Regions from separate parts of the Homo sapiens genome. Here all the other regions are linked to region 2. Evidence: promoter capture Hi-C in human tissues and cell types (Jung and others, 2019). All regions are on one chromosome and are shown on one strand. The core of a region is centred on a gene start or on the middle of the fragment in contact, and the rest is flanking DNA. Distances in the headings are between cores, read along the strand shown.

What was found. Contacts are between HindIII fragments. The study calls those that stand out against the background at their distance.
Region 1: a contact is called between the fragment with the promoter of TSC22D4 here and the fragment with the promoter of TAF6 in region 2, in 1 of the 25 tissues and cell types used here (bladder).
Region 3: a contact is called between the fragment with the promoter of AGFG2 here and the fragment with the promoter of TAF6 in region 2, in 1 of the 25 tissues and cell types used here (aorta).

What each region holds. Positions count from the first base shown.
Region 1 is chr7:100,477,197-100,480,511 of GRCh38, reverse strand. TSC22D4 (TSC22 domain family member 4) reads left to right here and starts at 1,298. Exons shown (of 5, transcript NM_030935.5): 1 at 1,298-1,718; 2 at 2,205-3,235. The coding sequence starts at 2,474. TSC22D4-C7ORF61 (TSC22D4-C7orf61 readthrough) reads left to right here and starts at 1,298. Exons shown (of 6, transcript NM_001395846.1): 1 at 1,298-1,718; 2 at 2,205-3,235. The coding sequence starts at 2,474. RefSeq lists enhancers at 783-892, 1,593-1,662 and a silencer at 983-1,142. The HindIII fragment of the contact is 44,126 bases long and covers 1-3,315 here.
Region 2 is chr7:100,117,663-100,120,944 of GRCh38, reverse strand. TAF6 (TATA-box binding protein associated factor 6) reads left to right here and starts at 1,587. Exons shown (of 15, transcript NM_139315.3): 1 at 1,587-1,741. CNPY4 (canopy FGF signaling regulator 4) reads right to left here and starts at 1,311. Exons shown (of 6, transcript NM_152755.2): 1 at 1,083-1,311. The coding sequence starts at 1,200. RefSeq lists enhancers at 615-684, 1,055-1,274, 1,485-1,634. The HindIII fragment of the contact is 13,440 bases long and covers 1-3,282 here.
Region 3 is chr7:100,537,929-100,541,122 of GRCh38, reverse strand. It overlaps AGFG2 (ArfGAP with FG repeats 2), which reads right to left and starts at 1,920. Exons shown (of 12, transcript NM_006076.5): 1 at 1,556-1,920. The coding sequence starts at 1,776. RefSeq lists silencers at 1,560-1,859, 1,910-2,189 and an enhancer at 2,069-2,570. The HindIII fragment of the contact is 17,077 bases long and covers 1-3,194 here.

The DNA of each region.
Region 1 (3,315 bases), core at 49-2,548, 360 kb before region 2:
AAATTGATTTTGGGCTGGGACCACCATCTGTGTGGAGTTTGCATGGTCTCCCCATGTCTGCATGGCATGTTTGAAAATTTTCATAATAATCCACTTTTTTTTTTTTTTTGAGACATGGTCTCACTCTGTTGCCCAGGCTGGAGTGCAGTGGCACAATCTTGGCTCACTGCATCCTCAACCTCCTGGGCTCAAGAGATCCTCCTGCCTCACAGCCTCCTGAGTAGCTGGGACTACAGGTATACATCACCACACTCAGTTTTTTTTTTTTTTTAAGATGGAGTCTCACTCTGTCACCAGGCTGGAGTGCAGTGGCGTGATCTCGACTCACTGCAACCTCCGCCTCCCAGGTTGAAGTGATTCTCCTGCCTCAGCCTCCCGAGTAGCTGGGACTACAGGTGCCCGCCACCACACCTGGCTAATTTTTGTATTTTAAGTAGAGACTTGGTTTCACCATGTTGGCCAGGATGGTCTTAATCTCTTGACCTCGTGATCCGCCCGCCTCGGCCTCCCAAAGTGCTAATTTTTTAAATTTTTTGTAGAGATGGGGATCTCGTTATATTGCCCAGGCTGGTCACGAACTCCTGGGCTCAAGCGATCCTCCCACCTTTGAGTAGCTGGAATTATAGGTGCACATCACCATGCCCAGCTATTTTTTTTTATTTTTTGTAGAGATGGGGTCTTGCTATTATATTGTCCAAACTGGTCTCAAGCGATCCTCCTTCCTCGACCTCCCAAAGTGCGGAGATTACAGGCATGAGCCACCACCGGGATCCGGCAATAATCCACTTTTAAAAATAAGGAATGGGGGGAATAATGCAGTTGCTGTGAAAACCAAAGGAGAATGACAGTAACAGCCACAGCTGCCCCACAGCAGGGACTGGGAACTTCTGGGTGGGCATGCAGCACACCTCCCGGCCTGTGCCTTCCGTCTCTTCTGTGTGTCTCTAGGCCAATGGCAGCAATTGACTACAAGTAAGGGAATCCCTCGCCTCCCTGCAAGCTCCTCCCCTTTCTCCCCGAGCCCCGCCCCCTGCAGCCCCTCCCTGCAAGAGTGGGGCTAGGGCCCGGCAGGTGTGGGGTTAAGGGAGTCTGTTTGGGGCCCCCAGGAGCAGCAGCCTAAGCAGTGGCTGCAGCAACTGCAACAGCAGCGGCTGTGGCAGGCCTGGCCCCGGGCCAGCTGGCGGGAAGCCCCAGGAGGGAGGGAGGGAGGAGGAAGGGGAGGAAGAGGGGAAGGAGGAGGAGGAGGAGGAGAGGAGCAGTCAGCAGGCCCGAGGAGGCAGGACTTCCTGGTGTGGGGGTTGTCAACAGCCCAGAAAGAGAAAGACGGAGAGGCAGAGACCCAGGGGAGCCGAGGAGCGGAGACACGGACCCAGCAGGGTCACGCGGGAGGAGACTCGGGACACCCACTCGCTGGCTGCCACCGGGAGCAGAGGGGGGCTCGGCCGCCCCCTCCCACATCAGTCTCCAGACCCTTGGGGCTTCAGAGGCCGCTCCTAGGCTCCTCGGAGGAGGCGCGGGTTTCTTCTTTTCCGGAGAGCAAACTTTCCTCGGAGATGCCTGGCAGGATGAGCCGCGGCCCCCGGAGAGGACGGGACAGCCTCTGATCGCCGCCTGCGTGCCCCGCCACTGCCCATGGCCAGGAGGCCCCAGGGAACGGACAGCCCGACCTCTTAGGCGCCGGGACCCTCAGGCTCAGATCAGTGGCCGAGGCCCCAGAGGTAGGGTTCAGGGCTGGGTGGGGCGCTGGGGGGTAGCCGGGCAGGGCCTGCCCCAGAGATGTGGGAGCTGGGGTGAGGGTGGGGGCTCGAGGCCCAGGAGAGGTCTCTCTGAGTGGCCGGGCCAGGCTGGGGAGCTGCTTCAGCCTGGTTCTCCCAGGCCCTGGAGTCCGAGCTCTTGGGACAATACGGGCCCCCTGAGTCAGAATCCCAGGCGAGAAATGCCCAACTCTGGGACTCATCTGCCTCTTTCTACTCTGAGTGCCTTCTTGGATCCAGTCCCCTCTGCCCTGGTCTCTGTCATCTCTTGCCTGTCTCTGGGTCTCTGACGGTTTCCCCTTCCCCCACTCTGCTCCCCGGAGAGGAAGCCCCGGAGGTGGCCTGCCCACTGGTTTCACACACACACACACACACACACACACACACACACACACACACACACACACTCTCTCTCTCTCTCTCTCTCTCTCTCTCCCCCTCTTTTTCCAGTTTGCAAACTCAGCTCTGGAGTTCAGCAGCAACAGCAGCAGGAAAAACCTGCCCCTGCTCCCCCCTCCCGCCACCTCCCCTCTCCTCTTCTCCCCTCACCCAGCAGGCACCCCCGGTTCCCGCCAGGCCCTCCTGCCATGTCGGACCCAGACGTCCCCAGGGGCTCGGATGTCCCCGCCATGTGGCCCCCTTGTTCCAGGGGTGCCTGAGCCCCTTCAAGGAGCCCCAACCCACCCCCAACCTTGGCCCAGCCCTGAGCCCCAGGGACCATGAGCGGGGGCAAGAAGAAGAGTAGTTTCCAAATCACCAGCGTCACCACGGACTATGAGGGCCCTGGGAGCCCAGGGGCTTCGGATCCCCCTACCCCACAGCCCCCAACCGGGCCCCCGCCCCGCCTGCCCAATGGGGAGCCCAGCCCCGATCCGGGGGGCAAGGGCACCCCCCGGAATGGCTCCCCACCACCTGGGGCCCCTTCCTCCCGTTTCCGGGTGGTGAAGCTGCCCCACGGCCTGGGAGAGCCTTATCGCCGCGGTCGCTGGACGTGTGTGGATGTTTATGAGCGAGACCTGGAGCCCCACAGCTTCGGCGGACTCCTGGAGGGAATTCGAGGGGCCTCAGGGGGCGCCGGGGGCAGATCTTTGGATTCCAGGTTGGAGCTGGCCAGCCTCGGCCTGGGCGCCCCCACCCCACCGTCAGGCCTGTCTCAGGGCCCCACCTCCTGGCTCCGTCCACCCCCCACCTCTCCTGGACCTCAGGCCCGCTCCTTCACTGGGGGACTGGGCCAGCTGGTGGTGCCCAGCAAAGCCAAGGCAGAGAAACCCCCACTGTCGGCCTCCTCACCCCAGCAGCGCCCCCCAGAGCCTGAGACCGGTGAGAGTGCGGGCACATCCCGGGCTGCCACGCCCCTGCCCTCTCTGAGGGTGGAAGCGGAGGCTGGGGGCTCAGGGGCCAGGACCCCTCCACTGTCCCGGAGGAAAGCTGTAGACATGCGGCTGCGGATGGAGTTGGGTGCTCCAGAAGAGATGGGGCAGGTAAGACCTGGGTTCTAGGGCTGGCCCATCAGCCCTGGCCTAACCTCTATCTTGAGCCTCCTTCCTCCTCCTCCCCCCCC
Region 2 (3,282 bases), core at 338-2,837:
TATGCATACTAACAATATAGACAGCAATAAGACCTATTATCTCTATCTACAGGTCTCTGTCAGTGTAGTTGGGACAGATAAACCAAGGATGACAAGCTGTGGTGAAGCTGGGCCTGAACTCATGGGCTCAAGTGATCCTCCCACCTTGGCCTTCCAAAGTGCTGGGATTACAGATGTGAGCCACTGTGCCCAGGCCCGTTGGCTGTATTCTGATAGAAGGCCTGCAGAGGTGTTAAAGCAAGGACTGATACAATTAGGTGATTAAGTCTGTTTAAAAAGATTGACAGGTCAGGGGAGAAGAGCGGCACACGGAGGTGAAAGGAGACAGAGATGAGGACCAAGTCATGAGACTGTCATGACTGCCTTTCATGATACTGGAATACAGTTGAGGGGGTGAAGCGAAGAGAAAAGGAATCCAGGGAAGAAACGTAAAGTCAGGAGGGCAGCAAACTAGGGCATCAGGGCCAGCCCCCTTTCTCAACTGGGCCCCACGCTAGTGCAGCTATGGAAGGCGCTGCTTGCTGAAAAATCCATATAGTACGCACCGTCTGCAAAGTCTCACCGGATGGGGACACTCTCCTAGTTGTGTGGCTTCCTTTTGTTTATGAGCTTCAAAGGCTGAATTACTCACCCTCAAACCCCCTCAGCGGGGTGTGGGGCCTGTAATTTGGGAGCGTCTATGCTAGGGTAGGGCAGCGGATGTCCACAAGGCCTGAGCCTCACACCCGGCTCCTGCAGCCTCTGCAGATTAAGGTCTGGTGACATGAGGTAAACACTCACTGAAGATGCTCTAAAAGTTGGCAGTCCCGGGCCGATGGTCCCTGAACTACAATTCCCACAATCCATTGGCGGGCGGGGGGTTCCAAGCCAGCCAAAAAAATGCAGGCTCTCTCTGGATGCAGTTTGAGGTGGCACTACACGTTCGCTTCCTTGACCCCATCCAAATTCAGCCAAGCTCCACCAGAACCTCCCTCAAGCCTTCAAGGAGGTCGGGTGACCCACCCAATACAGGCTAGGATGTCCGGCCTAGAAGAAGGAGGTGTGGCCGGGCGATGCCTATAGGGGCTACCCCCTTCAAATACCTTCGCATTTGCTGGGCAAGCGTTCTGTGTCATCGTCCTCCTCCTTCAACATCCCAGCCCAAGCCTCGTGCACGGCCAAAAAAAGGAAAAGCAATATTCCCAACCGCACAGGTCCCATGACAAAGCGCCGTCTACAAACAATCACCGCTTGCCTTCAACTTCGGGAAGGTAGTGTGGGTCCCTTAAATTCCCAGGCGGCTAGCGGCAACCTTAAATCCAGCCGAGGAAGGTCGGCGCATGCGCAGGATCAGCCCAACAAGGGTGGGGCCTCGTTGCTACGGGTTTCCCTGCCTCCGTTTTGTGGCGCCTCTTGAAGGTCCTGGCAGCCGGGTAGTGAAGGAATAAATTGCAGTAATTACACCAAGAGGGAGTGCTCCTTATATATAGATGTAGAAACAAACTTTTAAAATATAATTTCATTCTGCGAGCCTAGAGGACTTATTCTGGTACGGGGAAGGGGCAGTGACTTGCTCTTAGGCTCTGCCAGGACCTGCTCCCACGAGGGGGCGGGGCCAAGATGGCGCCGAGCGCCGGGTGAGCAGCGTCTCGGCTGCCGCTAGAGTTTTCCTGCTCCCCGCGCTCGGGTGGCGGGGGCGGGTCTGAGTGGTACCCCGGAGGAGACCCTTTGAAGGTCCCTTGTGGGGACTGGAAAGAGGACGGTTGGTTGTGTGTCTGTGCTCGTGGGGACCCCGTGTGTGTGCCTGCATTGGAGAGATGTTGCAGGAGATGGGGTGGGCTCTCTGAACCTCCTTTCGCGCTGCCCGGGGATCTTCGACCTGCTTCTCTGCTGGGATCTCGCTTAAGTTAACCCTTCCCTGGGACGCCTTCCTGCCGCCTCCACTGATCTGAGGAGATCCTGTGACTGTAGCGTGTTTTATGAGCCTTTACTGGCAGAGGGTACCGCCGGGTATTGAAGGATTCGTAGGAGTTCGCCAGGGAAGTGGGACACGACCCCCTCTTGTAAACCCGGCGCCAGGCACAGAGTATGTCTCGAATAGTTGTGTTCCCTATAGATAAGACTTATAAAAGTCGGGGAGGAGATCAGGGATGGTTTGAAAAGAACCAATTTGTTTTTCGGCCTCCCTCTTCCCATCCTTCCAGCACGGCCCCACCCTACCTGTACTACTCCTAAGCAGTATTGATATGTTAATCTTCCTAATGTCCAACTGCAAGTGTGCCACTTTAATTTTTTTTTGTTTTTTTTTTGAGACAGGGTTTCCGTCTGTTACCCAGGCTGTTGTGCAGTGGCACCATCTTGGCTCACTGCAGCCTCCAACTCCTCAGTTCAAGCGATCCTCCTGCCTCAGCCTCCTAAGTAGCTGGGATGACAGGTTCACACCACCAGGTCCGTCTAATTTTTTAATTTTTGCAGAAATGGGGGTCTCACTATGTTGACCAGGCTGTCTCAAACTCCTGGCCTCAAACAATCCCCCCACCTCTGCCTTCCAAAGTGCTGGGATTACTGGGGTGAGTTACCTCTCTTGGCTCCAATTTGCTTTTTTTTTTTTTTTGAGATGGAGTCTCTCTCTATCGCCCAGGCTGGAGTGCAGTGGCACGATCTCGGTTCACTGCAACCTCCGCTTCCTGGTTCAAGCGGTTCTCCCACCTCAGCCTCCCAGATAGCTGGGACTACAGGCGCCCGCCACCATGTCTGGTTAATTTTTGTGTTTTTACAAAAAGACAGGGTTTCACCATGTTGGCCAGGGTGGTCTCGAACTCCTAACCTCAGGTGATCTTCCCGCCTTGGCCTCCCAAATTACAGGCGTGAGCCACTGCACCTGGCTCCACTTTGCTTTTTTTGTTTTTTTTTTTTTTTTGAGACAGAGTCTGGCTCTGTTGCCCAGGCTGGAGTGCAGTGGTGCGATCTCGGCTCACTGCAAGCTCCGCCTCCCGGGCTCACGCCATTCTCCTGCCTCAGCAGCCTCCCGAGTAGCAGGGACTATAGGTGCCTGCCACCATGCCTGGCTAATTTTTTCTATTTTTTAGTAGAGACGAGGTTTCACCTTGTTAGCCAGGATGGTCTCAATCTCCTGACCTAGTGATCCGCCCGCCTCGGCCTCCCAAAGTGCTGGGATTACAGGCGTGAGCCACCACGGCCGGCCCAGTTTGCTTTTAACTACAGTGTAGGCTCAAAGCTTGGGCCTATGACCTATTAATAATAGTGATACCAAGTATTTACTGAGCACCAATATCTCTAAGC
Region 3 (3,194 bases), core at 671-3,170, 420 kb before region 2:
AAACCTCTCTTTGCTTCTGTTCTCCCATCTGTCTTGCAAGAACAATAGTGCTCGCTCCCTGGCTCCTAAAGGTATCAAGACAGGGAAAGCTTTTTTTTTTTTTTTTTTTTTTGAGACAGTGTCTTGCTCTGTCGCCAGGCTGAAGTGCAGTGGCGCAATCTCAGCTCACTGCAACCTCCACCTCCCGGGTTCAAGTGATTCTCCTGCCTCAGCCTCCCAAGTAGCTGGGAGTACAGGTGCGCGCCACCACACCCAGGTAATTTTTGTATTTTTAGTAGAGATGGGGTTTCACCATGTTGGCCAGGATGGTCTCGATCTCTTGACCTCATGATCTGCCTGCCTCGGCCTCCCAAAGTGCTAGGATTACAGGCGTGAGCCACAGCGCCTGGCTGGAAAGCATTTTTTAAAAAACAAAACAAAAACAACAGTGTCTTAAAATAAGACTAAAAAATTGTCAAAATAAATCCCTTGACAAACTTATTAAAAAACAGAGATCCAGGCCTGATATCAGATGTTAATCATGCATCTAACCAAATAATATCTTAATTTGGGAGTAGGAGGAGTGCAGAGGGGAGTGGAGGGGGCTTTACTATATAACCAGAAATCTAGGCTAGAATTGTGGCTGTAAATTCACTCTGGCATGACCGAACAGTACCAATGCCAAGAGTAGCACTCAGATGATGCACCAAAGCCCCCCCAAAATCTAGAGTTTCCTGGATGCTACCACCAGGATCCAGTCATGGCAACAGGGATCTTAAAGGTGTAAATGATTAACCTTCAGGATGGCTCACCTAGACGTGCAAACGTTTGAAAAAGCTAAGCTCTCTACCAGGGTAACCCATTGGCTCTCATCTCTTAGATTTCGTAAGAGTTTTACCTTCTGGGTAACATTTCAAAGCCCTGCTAAGATTAGTATCTACACCTGAACTCTGGACCATGGCTCCCTTCCAGCCACTATCTCTAGGCTGTCAATCGGGGTTAATTCGCTTTTTTTTTTTTTTTTAATCCTGTACTCTAATCATAGGAATTTCAACCAAGTTTCAGCTGGCTTCTGCATCTCACACTCCAGCAGGGACACAAGCCCGAAGGAAGAAAGGTGCCCGTCCATCTCCAGGCCGGCTTTCCCCACCTTTTTCCTTTTTGCTTTCCACCTGCATGAAGTTCCCTCTAAAGGTGCATGTCATTTTCTGGCCCTTTAAGTCCCGACACCCCATCCCACTCCGAGTTCCCTTCCATCCTCCGCACTTTCTCCCTCCCCACTTGCAGTTTGCCTCGACCCCCTCGGGGAGTTTCTCGGTCCCTCTCCGGGCGTCTTTCTGCACCCGTACCCTTCTCTCCGCAGAGCGACTCCGGCCTTGCTTCCTCTCCCCTGCCCTTTCCCCTCCCCACCACACCGCTGCAGCAGACGACCCCGTCCCCACAGCCGGCGCGTTCCCTGACCTCCCCTCCGCCCCTCACCTCGGCCCCCTTCCCTCGCGCCCCGGAGCCCCGGCCTCCCCACCCCGCCCCCGGGTCCCCCCACGCCGACCTCGGCCACTCCCTCCCGGTCACTCACAGGAGGCCGGAGCAGGTGGTGCACACGAAGCTGCCCACGGTGATATCCACGTAGGTGACCCCGCGCTGGGCGCACTCGAAGCAGTGGCGGTTCCCGGCCTGGCTGCAGCCACCCAGCTCCCGCACCCGACGGCACCACACCTCCGAGGCCGCCTCCGCCTCCGCCTTGCCCCCGCTGACCCCGCCGCCCGGGCCCGGGCCCTTCTTCGCCGCCATCACCATCGCTGCCCACTCCCTCCCCGCTAGTCAGCAATCACCCCTTCAACCACTGCCGCCTTCCCGCCTCCTCAGCCGCCTCCGCACGCCCGGCTCCCCTGACAGAAGCTCGGGAGCGGGCGGCATCCGCAGGAGACTTCGCCGTCCACCACCCTCCTTGCCCGTCCTGCACACTGATTGGCTAGGTTTCTCCCACCTCCTTACTCCGATTGGCCCTCCCTGGGACGGCCTCCGGTTGCTGGAGCCGCCAATGCCCCGCCCCACCGCCTTCAGGCCTCAGGCCTCTCCTATTGGCCGGCAGAGACCCCAGCAGCGAGAACCGTGCGTGCCCTCTCCTTGTCCCCGCCCCCTCTCGCCGCTGCCTCCACCGTGGCCCGCCTCCTAGTTCCGATTGGTGAGTCCTCGGCACTCGGGCTCCGACGCTAATTTTGATTGGCTGGCGGGGCTGCAAAGTTAGCGCGCGAGACAGAGGAGGTGCCCCGCGCGTGCGTAGCTGTCGTCCTCCCGACTGATGACGTTAATTCCCGGCAAATTTCAAAGGCTTACTCTAGACTGTGTAGAGTGTCATGCAAAGCCGAAGAGAAGTGGCCATGTGAGGGGCTGAGCAGGAGGGGGAAAGAAGAGAGCGCTTAAGGGAGAGAGGGAGAGGGAGCAAGAGTGCTTTACTAGACCAGTGCTCTAATTCCTGAGCCACAGAGCGAAGGGAGTGCTTTATAAATGTCATTTCATTCGCTCCGCCTATCCCAGAGGTGGAATCCCCATTTTACACCCTTAGGTTCAACAACTTGCGGCAGATCACACGAGTGCGTGGCCCAGGATTCCACTCTGGGTCTTCCAACTTTAGAAACCCTGCCTTTAACCCTCCTAGTAGGTGGACTATTATTCGATTATTCATTTAACAAACACTGAGTGTCTGCTAGGTTTCAGGCACGTTCTAGACACTGGGAATAGAATACAGCAGCGAAGCAATCAAACAAAATATTCTTATAGAGCTTAGTTTCTAGTAGGGGGAAGCAAACAATACACAAATTAAAGAATCACCAGTTAGTAATAAATCCTACGCAGAGAATTAAAATCACATCTTGGAAAAGACTTTTTGGGTACTTTTTTAATTTTTTAATTTAATTTTAATTTTTTGAGATGGAGTCTCACTCTGTTGCCCAGACTGGAGTGCAGTGGCACGATGTCAGCTCACTGCAACCTCTGCCTCCTGGGTTTAAGCAATTCTCATGCCTCAGTCTCCTGAGTAGCTGGGATTACAGGCGGCCACCACCACCCCCAGATAATTTTTGTATTTTTATTATTATGATTATTATTATTTGAGATGGAGTCTCGCTCTGTCGCCCAGGCTGGAGTGCAGTGGCACGATCTCGGCTCACTGCAAGCTTCGCCTTCTGGGTTCACGCCATTCTCCTGCCTCAGCC